Regions from separate parts of the Homo sapiens genome. Here region 2 is linked to region 1. Evidence: promoter capture Hi-C in 16 types of primary human blood cells and fetal thymus (Javierre and others, 2016). All regions are on one chromosome and are shown on one strand. Each heading gives the region's core, a stretch centred on a gene start or on the middle of the fragment in contact. The rest is flanking DNA. Distances are from core to core; before and after follow the strand shown.

Region 1 (6,716 bases), core at 437-2,936:
TCAACTGATCTTCAAACTTAAGGTGTTAGCAAGAATAATCTTGCTTTTTAAAATGTGTATATGTTTCATGTAATCTTCTAAGACAAATTGTGTACTTTGACTTTAAATAAATTTCTGTTTAATCTCCTCACTAAATTTCTGGATAGCTGCAACTTCTTTAAAAATTCCAGATATCGATAGTGATGCAATTGTAGAGTAGACTGAGCTGTCTCTTCAGTAGTGGTGCAGAGATGGGCTGAAGCAGGAAAAGACACTCACTCCCTGAAACCTGTTTGCAACCCCATGACGAATACATACTTTCCCTTTCAACTACAACATTCTCTTAATGTTTGGCATGACCAAGTTATTCTTAAATTACCCCCTAGCTCTAAGCAACAGGAATAATCTTTTCCCATTTTATTCCTATGAACATGTGAAGTTTCAGGTCCCCTAAGGAATTCTCAATGTTTTTTTAATGCAGAGAGAAAGCGAACCCGCAGAAAAGGGGTTGGTAATTCCTCACTCCGTATTGTTTTCCTGCCTGTCACGGCCCCCGCCAGAAACTCCAAGCATTTTGCCAATGGGTAATGATGGGCAGTTAGTAGCTGCTTTTGTTGGGTGGTTGAAAAACAAAGCAAAACAATTCTCAAGGAAGGAAGAGAAAGTTTGAACCCAGACATCCTAAAAGTTGTACACTTTAAAAATCCTCCGACTCGCTAGTTAATAATTGAGTTTTCAGTCTTTCCCTGAAGGCTCACTGGAGCCCCATTTGCCTTTAATTGTTGGAACCGCCCTCACTTGGCTTGTTTCTGAGGTGTCCCACATATCACAAAGCTAAAGTTAACAAATTCAACTCTATATCCACAAATGTCATGACAGTGAGCATATTGCTTTGCCTAAAGAATAAAGACTGAGACTAAACTCTTTGCTTGTTCTTTGCTAGAAATCTGTTTGAGAAACTCCTAGTAGAATGAAAATCCAGGGGTTAAAAATAATGCACTTCATCATGGAAGTGCGCGTTGCCCTCATTACAGAGCTGCGAGAGAAATATTCCAGCTACTCACTGTTGCCTCTTAGTTGTTATGCTTTTCTTTCCTAATTGCATCGGACATGACCTATTTGCTTCCTAAGAAATCATACTTTTTACCTTAGGATACCAGCATAACCAAGCCATCCAAAAGCACCGGGGTCCCTACAGAAGCCCACCAGCTCCTTAATGTGGCCCCAGATGTGAAGATGGGGAAAGGGTAACTCCGTCCCACTTACCAGTCTTCCACAGATAGAGGGTGGGCGCCTCCGCCTCGCCCTGCGCCGCAGCCCTGCCGGCGCCCGGGCGTAGCAGCAGCAGCAGGAGCAGCGGCAGCGGCAGCGGCAGCGGCAGCAGCTGCAGGACGCCCCGGCGCGGCCCCGCAGCGCCCCGGCTCCCGGACGCCCAGCGCCTGGCTTGCAGCCCCATGCCGCCTGCAGCCACTCCAGGGTCCAGAGCCGTAGCACGCTCGGCAGGGAATTTTTCTCCGCTCTTGGAACGTCTTTTCAAAGAGTACAGAAAGCAAAGCTCTTTCCTGCTATTGTTCGCTTCAGATGAGAAGGAGGGAGAGCGCGTCTAACACCAGGGAACAATAGCGTCCGCGGTGGTGGCCGTGGCCGCTGCCGCCGCCGCCGCCGCCTCTGGCGGGGATGCTGCTGCCGCTGCCATTCCTCGCAGAATGGCAGGTCCCGGCGGCTCCGGAGGCAACTGTCCTCAGGGGGCCCCAGCTGACTGAGCAGGTCTGCTAGGTCTGGGAGGCAGCGCAGCCCCCGCCAGCTGGAGGGGGAGGAGGGGGGCGTGAGCCCAAAGGAGCAGAGGGGGCTGGAGGCAGAGGGAGGCGAGAGCGCGAGGGCGAGAAAGGGGGCGAGCAAAGGGGAGAGGGGCCAGCCAGGCGACACCCACCTCCGACATACCCGCCTAAAGAACTCCGGTGCACATGGTGCGATGAAATATGTTTGGAAGGATGCACCAATAAAAAGAATCATCACCCGGCAGATTTCAGAATGACAAATAACAGGCATTGATATTCACTGTCATCCAAGGAGTCAAATGCTAGATCTAGTGGCATGCTATTCTTAGTACGTATTTACACAAAGCATCAGTGTTTATTATCTATTTTTAAGCCATGGCTTCTGAATTACTTTGTGTGGGGAGCAGTATTTGAGATCAGGTGTGAAAACACGAGAGCAGAAATGTTGACTTGTCAAAATGCACTTAAACCCTTCTTTAAATGTTGTTTTTAACTTAATCTATTATCAATAAAAATATGAGCAATATTGATGCTCTGTGACAAATTAAATTGTCTTTTAATAGCCTTTAAAACTGAATTAGTGTTAATGAGTATTTGCAATGCTACCTAATTACATAAATACAATTGTACAAAAAAAAAACCCTTAAAATTAAAATTATATTTCAGGTATAGAGTTCTGTCCCTTCATCTACTTCTTTCCCTCAAAAATATGCTACTTCTAAGTATTCAGATAGTTGTGAGTCAAACTGAGTCAGTAATGCTGTCTGGATATCTTGGAATTAGTAAATTCTTCATTTAAAATTTCCCTGACACCGATTTTTCTTAACTCTTACTGTAGCAAAATGCCTGTCGCAATCTAAATAAGGAACCACATGTGTTTGCATCTTTTGTCCTTTGTGTTTTCACTTTCTTCTACCAGTAGTAATAGAAGAATGTGTGTGAAGTCGGATAATGCTTTCCCCTTTCTCCTTCTCCCTTTAGCTAATAATAATATATTTTATTATTAATTCATTTCACAGTAAAGCTAAAATAGTAGGCATTTAACCATTAAAAATTCAGCAAACGGAAAGCCAAAGAAAACTACTATCCCATCAGCAATTTTCAGCCAAATAAAATAAAATTTTAAAAGCAGGAAAACTACTTTTTATGAATTTACTCCAACATAGCTACCCTAGAGTTTAAGATGAGGAAGCTACTCTTTCTGAAAGAGGAAACCTTCCATAAGGCTCCCTTGGGACCCTTGTCATTTTGCAAAGCCTTCCAGACACAGCCCCTCTGCATGCATTAGATTAAAAGCGGGTTTGATCAAATAATTCCCAGGTCCTGCCTGTTTAAGTATTCTGACATCAGAGGAAATTAGCTACGTTGAAGGTTGCAAATTTGGTCTTTGTTTACTTTCCGCTCTGTTAGGCCTCTAAGAAGGAATTAAAAGCTCAGAGAGCCCGAGCGCTGTGAGTCTGTGATTAGGAGAGATAAGCTAGTGTGGCTTACTATTTCTTCACTCGTGAAAAACAGGCAACAATCAAAAGATTATAGGTTGATAAGGAATAAAAAGGAAGCCTGATCTTAACTAATGTATGGTTCCCTGAAGGATCACTTCTTTTGACAGTTACACCACAGAAGGAAATGGGACCTGCTATTGCTTCCTGGGTTCTGTCGTTTCAGGAAAATTTCCATGTCCACTCCACAAGGAATCATTTTCCCATCCTTTCTGCTTGTATTTCTCAGCTACTGTTAGTGCCCTAAACCTTGAAATCCTCTAACTCTGGCACAGGAAGTATTTCAAACTGGACATACTCTGCTAACAGCAGCCATTCTACGCATTCGTGGGAAGCGCCAATCAATTCACCAAGTGGGAATTCATTATATAACAGAGGACAGAGAGTCTGAGGAATTAAGTTAATGTGCAAGGTCATTTACCTAGCCCTTCAAAAAGCCATCCGACACTATACTTAATAGCTTATTGTCAAAAGAAATTTTAAGATTCTGACCTTTATATTTACCCATGGTGGTATAATAATAACTCAACTTGTCAAGAGTGTAAACATCATAGCTACAAATTCAAGCATTATACGGGGTCAATTTCTAGGTTCCAATTTGCTGCCATTTACAATACACAATTATGGTGATATGTTCTGCAGTACTGTTTCAAAATAGCCAACATTTGGTTTCCTTCTTTCAATTTCAACGTACACAAGGCCTAGGAGTCACACACACACATGCACATACACAAACACACACAATCATCAGCAAAGATATCTCTGAACAAGGTTAGAGAATCCAAGTCATATAAACATTTGTCTCCACACCTGCCACACATTTGTTCATAACAATGTCATTATTGCACTTGAGGACAAAAATGTATGGGTCTCTGAGGAGACAAAAGTGATGTATATATCCTGATATGTGTTCCTTTGTGAAAGGTATAGTGTCTAGGTAGATAAATCCTATCAATAAAACTGATAGATGGCAAGAGATAGCAAGACATAGCAATATTTGTTTCCTAGAATATGACATAAATAATAATACACAAATGTTTAATGACATGATGTCAAAATTTAGTCATGAGAAGTCTCAAGGATGCAGATTAAATTGACCATCTGTACAGCCTGCCATGAAGTAAATCGTTCGTCATTTTTCATGGAGAACTGTTCAAATATTAATGAGCCAGTGCGATAAAAGTTCTCCAAACCAATGAATGACAAATGCAAAGCATATTTTTTTAATATTTAGAAATGAAAAAATTCTAAACTTATCACCTCTCATGTGATAGGTGTCTTTATTCTGCCTCTATTAATTTTGCTATCATTTCTAAACTCCAGAGGTAAGGATGTGAACATACCTATACACATCTGTTTTCTCTTTTATTAGAACATAAACATATAAATATATATTACAACTCATGAGACTCATGACAATGACTTTTAGTCATTAGTATCAATATTTTAAAACAATTATGAAATATTCAGTTCCTTGATGGAAAGGGAAACAACTTTTAACATCAACAGTTTTATAATTATAAAAAAGTGAAGAAATATAGTTATTTATTGATAGTATTACATATGGAAATATCTAAAGATGTCCATTTTGAAATAAAAACTTAAAAATAATTCTCCACATAAATGCATTTTGCATCCTAAAAAATAAAAAATACCCAAAGGAATTCTATTTGTGCAACCTCTAGGTGTCACACTTGACCAAGATTTGGATGAGACAAAATTTATTTTGGGCTTCTTTCTATCCTCCCCTTCCCTTGACACCCACCCACCAAGTTTATAGGTACACCTCATTTTACTGTGCTTTACACATATTTTTGTTTGTTTGTTTGTTTAACAAATTTAAGGCTTGTGACAACTTGGCATTGAGCAAGTCTATCAACATAATTTTTCCCACATGAAGTGCTCACTTCATGTCTCTATCACATTTTGGTAATTTTCATAATTTTTCAAATGTTGTCACTATTATTCTATCTGTTATGGTGATCTGTGATCTGTGATCTTTGATGTTACTGTTGTAATTATTTTGGGGCACCACATACTGTGCCCATATAAAATAGCAAACTAAATTAATGAATGTTGTTGTGTATTCTGACTTCTCCACCAACAGGCTGTTTCCCTATCTCTCTCTCGTTGGGCCTCCCTTTTCCCTGAGACATATGAATATTGAAATTAGGCTAATTAATAACCCTACAATGGCTTTTAAGCGTTCAAGTGAAAAGAAGAATTACAAGTCTCTCATTTTCAATCAAAAGCCTAAAATTATTAAGCTTATTAGGGAAGGCATATCAAAAGCCAAGATAGGCCAAAAGCTAGGCCTCTTGCACCAGTTAGCCAAGTTGTGAATGCAAAGGAAAGTTCTTGAAGAAAATTAAAAGTACTACTTTAGCAAATACACATATGAAAGGAAGCAAAACAGCCTTATTGCTGATATGGAGAAAGCTTTAGTGATCTAGATAGAAGATCAAATCAGCCACAACATTCCTTTAAACCAAAGCCTAATCCAGAGAAAGGCCCCAATTCTATTTAAACCTGTAAAGACCAAATGACATGAGGAAGCTGCAGAAAAGTGTGAAGCTGGCAGAGACTGTTTCATAAGGTTTAAGGAAAGAAGCCATGTTCACAACAAAATTGCAAGGTGAAGCAGCTGTAGCAAGCTACTCAGAAGATGTAGCTAAGATCACTGATGAAAGTAGCCACATTAAACAATTTTCAACATAAACAGATGAAAGTACCTACATTAAACAATCAATTTTCAACATAAATGAAAAAAGCCTTCTATTAGAGGAATATGCCATCTAAAATTTTAATAGCTAGAGAGGAGAAGTCAATGCTTGGCTTTAAAATTTCAAAGGACAGGTTGACTCTCTTGTTAGGGTCTAATTCAGCTGGTGATTTTAAGTTGAAGCCAATGCTTACTTACCATTCTGAAAATCCTAGGGCCCTCCAGAATGTACTAAATCTACTCTGCCTGTGCTCTATAAAGGTAACAATAAAGGTGAATAACTGCCCATCTCTTTAGAGCATGGTTTACTGAATATTTTAAGCCCATTGTTGAGATCTACTGATCAGAAAATAAGATCTCTAATGGAGATATACAGGATATTAATATTTTCATACCTGATAATACAACATCAACTCTGCAGCCCGTGGTTCAAGGAGTAATTTTGACTTTCAAGTCATTATTTAAGGAATATATTTTGTAAGGTTTAAGCTTCCTTACATTATAATTCGTCTAATGGATCTGGGCAAACTCACTTGAAAACTTTCTAGAAAGGGTTCACCATTCTAGATACCTTTAAGAGCATTGATGTTTTATGGGAAGAAGTCAAAATACAAATATTAACAGGTTTGAAAGAAGTTGATTTCAACCCTCATGAATGACTTCTAGGGGTTCAAGACTTCTCTGGAGGAAGTCAATACAGATGCAGTTAAAAAAGCAAGAACACTAGAATTGAAAGTG
Region 2 (6,699 bases), core at 649-3,148, 260 kb before region 1:
AGAGACGTCACGTAGAAAGATCAATGCAAATTTGTTTCTCAGGGGAAAATTTTGGGCTAGATATATAAATCTCGGAATCCAAACAAAACCTGGTGATCTAAATAACATTATTACCCAGTTATTCTCTTTCACATAACCCTGTTTTAATTCTCTGCATAGTGCTTATTGCTCTTTGATATTTTCTTATTTATTTTTTGGTATATAATTTTTCTCCTTCCATTAAAGTGTAAACTTTGTGACAGCAGGAATAGTGTTTGTGCTGTTCATTTCTCTATTTTCAGCATTTAGAATAATGCCTAAGACATAGAAGACACTCAGTAAACATTGGTTCAATGAATAAATGTATGGATACCTTCCTGTCATAGAAAAGGGAAACAAAAACTTTTTTTTTTTTTTTTGAGACAGAGTTTCGCTCTGTCGCCCAGGCTGGAGTGCAGTGGCACGATCTCGGCTCACTGCAAGCTCCACCTCCCGGGTTCACGCCATTCTGCCGCCTCAGCCTCCCGAGTAGCTGGGACTACAGGCGCCCACCACCACGCCCGGCTAATTTTTTTTTTTTTTTTAGTAGAGATGGGATTTCACCATGTTAGCCAGGATGGTCTCGATCTCCTGACCTCGTGATCCGCCCACCTCGGCCTCCCAAAGTGCTGGGATTACAGGCGTGAGCCACCGCGCCCGGCCAACAAAAACATTATCATACATGTGAAGTGCAGTTTTATTGTCATTAAATATGAGTAACCTTAATAGACCATTAGCTATAAGACTGAATCACTATTTAAAAGAGAGGCACATTTTCTAAAACCAATAATCGTTTAGAGGTGAGATAGCTTTTCTCTAGCATAAAACTGGCTTACAAGTAGTAACCCTATACTGTATAGCACAGTGGTTAAGATCACTGGTTCTGGAGCCAGACTGATTCACAATCCTGATTATGACGTTTACTAGCTATATTCCTTAAGAAAATTATTTAAGCTCTTTGTACGTCCATATTATATAATAATAGTGCTTACCTCATAGGATTATAGTGAGGGTCTCATAAGTAAATAAATGTAAAACACTTAGAATAGTGTCTCACATATAGTAATCATCTATCATCCTCGTCATCCTCTGCATCATTATTATTACTACTTCAAATTAACGCATTTTGATCTATAGACAGAAACTTGGTAATTATTTTTTTCTTGAAGGAAATACTAGAAAGCAAAATTGCTTTTTTAAAGAGATGGCGTTATTGTTAACACTGGGTCTTTCTTACATCTGCTTCAGATTTTTGCTATGGGTTACAAGCCAGCAAACAGATTTAAGGACTTTTGATTTTCCTTTATCAGTGCCTAGATAAACTTTTTCTTTGCCCTGCATCTAGTTAGGCCTGGATCCCCTGTAGAAGTGGGATAATATTTTATTCAAGATTATGTCCTGTCAAGCCTTTCAATTTCCATTTGAGGATGCTTATCCTATCCTCACCGCAATGATGGTTGGAAATTGTGTCTCTGCATTGAACTGCACCTAAGCAGTAAGCAGAAGAGCTGTACTCCAGATACTTGTGTCAGGGGATATAACGGAACTCTCTGCCTCTATCAAAGCTCAGAGGAGGATTGCCTGAGGGAATAGCTGTACCTCCATTCATTTAGTACATCCATTTCGAAGTCTATCCTTGGGTTATCCAGCTTAGTGAGACCTATAAATCTGTACCATATCATATCAACCGCCACTTATTACCCTTTACTGAATTACACTTTGATATTTCTACTAGTGGCCTATGTATAAGAAAATTGCTTAAAGAAAAAGCTTCCTTATAAAATTCATTATGGTGTTTATTGTAAAGATGTTAATAAGTTGTAATTCAACACAGTTACAGTGTCTTTTTTATGAAGGCCCACTGGTGAATTTTCTTTCTGGCTCTAGAACCAGAAATCATGGTGCTTCTCATTTACAACTGGTTTCTGTTGCCTAATGGGCACTGCAAATTTCACGGTTAATGCAGTGTTCCTTTCTACATTGGCTATTACAAGCTTAGAGCCAGAAGTTGTGGCCTACTTCAAGAAATTCACAGAATCTTATGATACACATTTTGTGCATCATCCTTGTTATATTCATTATTGGTTTGATATCCTCTTTCTACTAGCATTTTTCCTTTGCCCCACACTCCTCATCCATTTATTCTTAAAATTACTTTATCTCCCTTTATTGTCGGTATTTATAGACAATAAAGTGGGACATAATATTCAAAATCACATCATTGAATGCAAGCAATTTCTTTTCTAACTGCGCATAAACAATGCTTGATGAATTCCAGTCACTCTGAAGCCATCAATTTGAGTTATTTTCCCATAAAGAATATCTACTATGGGGAAATCTACATATTTTTACAGAAGACAATCATTGCCCTATCTAGAGGACACTGCACACAGCACGAATGCATATTGTTCACATGGAAAGAGTCACTGCGATTCATAGCTAGCCGGTCTGGATTTGATTCTGATAATGTCAAGTGTGGGATAGACAGTAATTCATACCAGGTGACTTGATATAATACATCAAAGGTACCTTTTCAGTTAAACTGTATGAAATTGCCACTAATTGACAGATCTTGACCTACAAAAATAGCAATATCATATGGTTCAACATAATGCTGGTTCAAATAACTGTGAACAAGACTCCATATTGACCTTATAGAATCATGTCACAGAATGAACTTAATTGCGTTGGCTCCTATAAAGGGCTTACATTATACTTTTCCCTTCAATTTTCTTTTATAAGAAGTAGATTTCTAGGCCATTTTTGTTTATTTTTGCAACAGAAACATTATCAGCTAATAGGATGCACTTCTGATGATTTTGATAAACTTGTAGACAGCTATTATACCCAGGGCATTTATTCTGAAGCAAATGCATAGGGGAAGCGAGTATGCTTGCAATGAGTTTACACTTTAGAGTCAAAAACAAGGCATTGAGTCCATGTTTTGCCACTGACTGTTTCAGTATGTCTGAGAAAATTATTCTCTAATTATCAGGTTAGTTATGTATTAATGGGAAAACACTATCTACCGCAATATGTTGGGGACTTTTCTTACCCCCTTGTTATAGATTTGTAGAAGGCTTTGATAAATAAGTCAATAGCTTTCCTAGTTAAAAACATAACTGTATTTTCACAGTACTTCTGGGATTCTTAATGAACTAGAAACTTAATTGATCCAAGACTTTCTAAACAGATCTAGCTGAGCACATATAAAACAATAGAAGTGTTTTCTAAACTCTATTTTATTTACTTTTTATTTTTTTGAGACAGAGTCTGCTCTGTCACCCAGGCTGGAGTGCAGTGGTGTGATCTTGGCTCATTGCAACCTCTGCCTCCCAGGTTCAAGCAATTCTTGTGCCTCAGTCTCCTGAGTATCTGGGACTACAGGCATGTGCCACCACACCCAGCTAATTTTTGTATTTTTAGTAGAGATGGATTTTCGCCATGTTGACCAGACTGATCTTGAACTCCTGGCTTCAAGTGATCTGCCCGCCTCAGCCTCCCAAAGGCCTGGGGTTACAGGTGTGAGCCACCATGGCTGGCCTCTAAACCCTATGTTTTTATGTATCTAGTTGCTATAATTATTATTTTAACAACAAGGGCTAAGTTTTCCCAGGCATAAAGCTCCCTATCTGGGCATTTTAGATCCCCAGAAATCCTGTGGGATATAAGGGGCAGATGGAACAGCGTGGCATTCCAAGTTTGAGCAATGGTGAAAGTGCTGTTTTAGAGTAACCTAACAATCCGAGGGTTACTACAAGCATCTTTGTCAGAATTCTTCAGCAATGGACTACTACTTAAAATTCGCAAGGCTTCTGAATCACAAAGGAAAGGAAGCTGTAATTATTCTGACTACCATAACTATAGAAGTAAAATTAACTGTATTTATTCTTATTCTAAAATAATACAATGAAAGCTTTAGAAAAGGTCTATTTTTTTCCCAAGAAAGGGACAATTTTGTATATAATGTTAGCCCATGGCAGGATTTTAACACATACTGTAAAGAGACAGTATTATTTGCTCTCCATTATGTTTCTCAACTAGCAAGCTAGTATACAATTAGCCTTTATTGCATGCTAAGGATTTGGAGCGAAACTGTTATTTAAAAAATTCCCTTTTCTCAATTCAACCAGAAAAGTAAACACGTAAACAAAAGCAATTAATATTCATTTGGCATATAATAAATGCAAGGCCTTATGCTAGGAAATGATTTACATATGTTACATATGTCATCTCATTAAGCCTTTAAAAAGGAAAGAAAAGCATAAGAGATATAGAATGAATTAGTGCAAAAGATAGGTTAATTCAAAATGAAACCTTATAAATTAAATGTCCAGGAAGTCAACATCCTCTGACTGAAGGCATTTCTCTGTCTTTTTAAAAGATATTTCCAAAGAATACAATTGGTAAATGTACCCAGACCTCTGCTAAGAATGATAGGTTGTACTAAAGAAGTTTAGGGAAGGATAAAACACTATGCCCTCTCTCAGAAGCTTAAAATCTTGGGAAGTTGGCATGAATAGAATATAATCATATGAAATCAAATGGCAAATCAAGAAATATAGCAGAAAAGGGCTATACAGGCTTTGGATAAAGGAAGATGATTAAGGTCTTGTAATTTGAAAAATATTCTTTAAAAGAGGAGATATTTGGATAATTGGGACAATGGTTGAAGGCATTACAAGGCAGAAAATAGAGGAAAAGCAAAAGAAAAGGAACTGAAATAGCACTGGTTTTGCTTCAATGGATAGGTGATGCTTAGCTTAGAGAGAGTTCTTGTGCATCCACAAATACAAAACAGCTTCCGACACTGAGGACATGTAACTTTGTCAAATACAGAAAATGTAAAATTGTGAAGAGGTACAACCAGTGCATATAATTACAAGAATATAGATTACTACTTTGAGTTCTTGAATTGCATTCAATGTGCATTTTTTTCTTAAATTAATTTCCCCAATAAGAGGCAATTTTAGTGGATTTCAAACTTAGAATATGAGCTGTATCCTTGTATTTTGAGCATATTTTTGTGTGCAATAAATGATGAGACCTTTCCAAGATGAATCTGTTGTTACAGTTTTCTTTTCCCATTGCTATTCTCCTTGGTTTATTTCCCTTTTTATTGCCCATTGCTTTTAGAAGGAATAAATATTAATGAGTTCTACAATGTAGTTTGCACTCCTCTGTTAACACTGGAGAGAGTAGCTACTCCCTATTGAGCAATCATCAGCAAGGCAGGGAACAACCAGCCCTAGCCACAAACCATTTCTTTTACATCTTTAGATAGCAGGAGTGTGCCTCTGAAAAAATGCTACTCATTCACCAGTGCACATCCCTGAGTGCTCATTTCAAAATTCCTCCTGGCGCTATCATTCATCTACAACGAACTCGATGAAATAAGTGCTTAAGGGTTACAAAAAGCACGGATACTATAGTCCCTTGATAGTGTCAGGTTAGATGACATTTTATCCACCATCTTTCTTTCATTAATGGAAGGTCTGTATTAACTGCTATGTCTTCTTTCCATCTCAGGTTACAGGTATGAAGTAAGATGAAACAGTATCTATCCTTCCCTAATTTCCCAGCTTAAATACTAGCAAAGTATTGTGAGTTTCTAAAGATTTAGAGCTCAGGGATCTAAAACTGGGGGGTCAAAGAATGTAGAAAAGACTAATATCATTACTGAAAGGTCCAGTTCACTTTGGAAAATATATAGTGACTTTTTCTAGTCATTCCATTCTTCCCAGTCGTACCTCTAGAACTATGGGGAAAACAAGGCTTTTCAAGAAACAATGCATGTGTTTCTGTTTCTCATCTTAAAGTAGTCATTCTCACTGGCTGTAATAGAGGACAAAAATCTATGTTAGAATTAGGGGTAGATTTATTGAGAAGCCCATGAAGCTTAAGGTTTGGGCCCTTCTAAGGCCCTGGCAGAGATGTTAGTGAGTGATTTTGAATTTGGAATTTTGAAATCTGGCTGTTTTTTTTAAAATAACATTTAGGGTTCTCTAAATCGCATAAGCTTTGGGTCCCAAAAGACTCTCATTAGCTGCATGGTAAAATCAACTCTTGATTATAATCAATGACAATCCTTATAAAAAACAGATTCCTGCCTCATTCAGGACCTACAGAATTACAGCCCCAGTGGGTAATATCTAGGAATGTCTGCATTTTCTTAAAGCATGCAGGTGATTCTTAAACTATATTTTGAGGATATATGCTTTAGAGAAAAAAAATTCACCTGAGGAATAAGGGTACAGGTTCGTTATTAAGGACGGACCATGGTGTAGTGCACTCTCAGGGATTAGACAGCCCCAAACTGACAGATCCATACAAGTCACCCTATGTCAGCCTTGTGAAGGGTCAGTCTAAACTCCAAGTACACAAAGCTATAACTTCAAGGCTTTTATCAGGCTATAAACTTCCTGATGACAAGTATCAAGTATACTTTTTTAAAAAATCACCAGAAAATACTATGCAGCCATTAAAAGAATGAAATCATATCCTTTGCAGGGACATGGATGGAGCTGGAGACCATTATCCTTAGCAAACTAAGACAGGAACAGAAAACCAAATACTGCATGTTCTTACTTATAGGTGGAAGCTAAATGATGAGAACACATGGACACATAGAGGGGAACAACACGCACTGGGGTGTTTTGGAAGATGGAGGGTGGAAGGAGG

What was found. The method cuts DNA at HindIII sites, captures the fragments that hold promoters and counts their contacts. A CHiCAGO score of 5 or more calls a contact.
Region 2: a contact is called between a fragment that was not itself captured here and the fragment with the promoter of THSD7A in region 1, in 1 of 17 cell types (endothelial precursors). The highest score is 8.3, in endothelial precursors.

What each region holds. Positions count from the first base shown.
Region 1 is chr7:11,830,512-11,837,227 of GRCh38, forward strand. It overlaps THSD7A (thrombospondin type 1 domain containing 7A), which reads right to left and starts at 1,687. Exons shown (of 28, transcript NM_015204.3): 1 at 1,246-1,687. The coding sequence starts at 1,435. RefSeq lists enhancers at 1,284-1,824, 1,825-2,364. The HindIII fragment of the contact is 6,451 bases long and covers 1-5,521 here.
Region 2 is chr7:11,574,055-11,580,753 of GRCh38, forward strand. The region is part of intron 4 of THSD7A (thrombospondin type 1 domain containing 7A); the gene reads right to left. Among named protein-coding and RNA genes, the nearest start is that of THSD7A, 250 kb to the right of the region's middle. The HindIII fragment of the contact is 224 bases long and covers 1,787-2,010 here.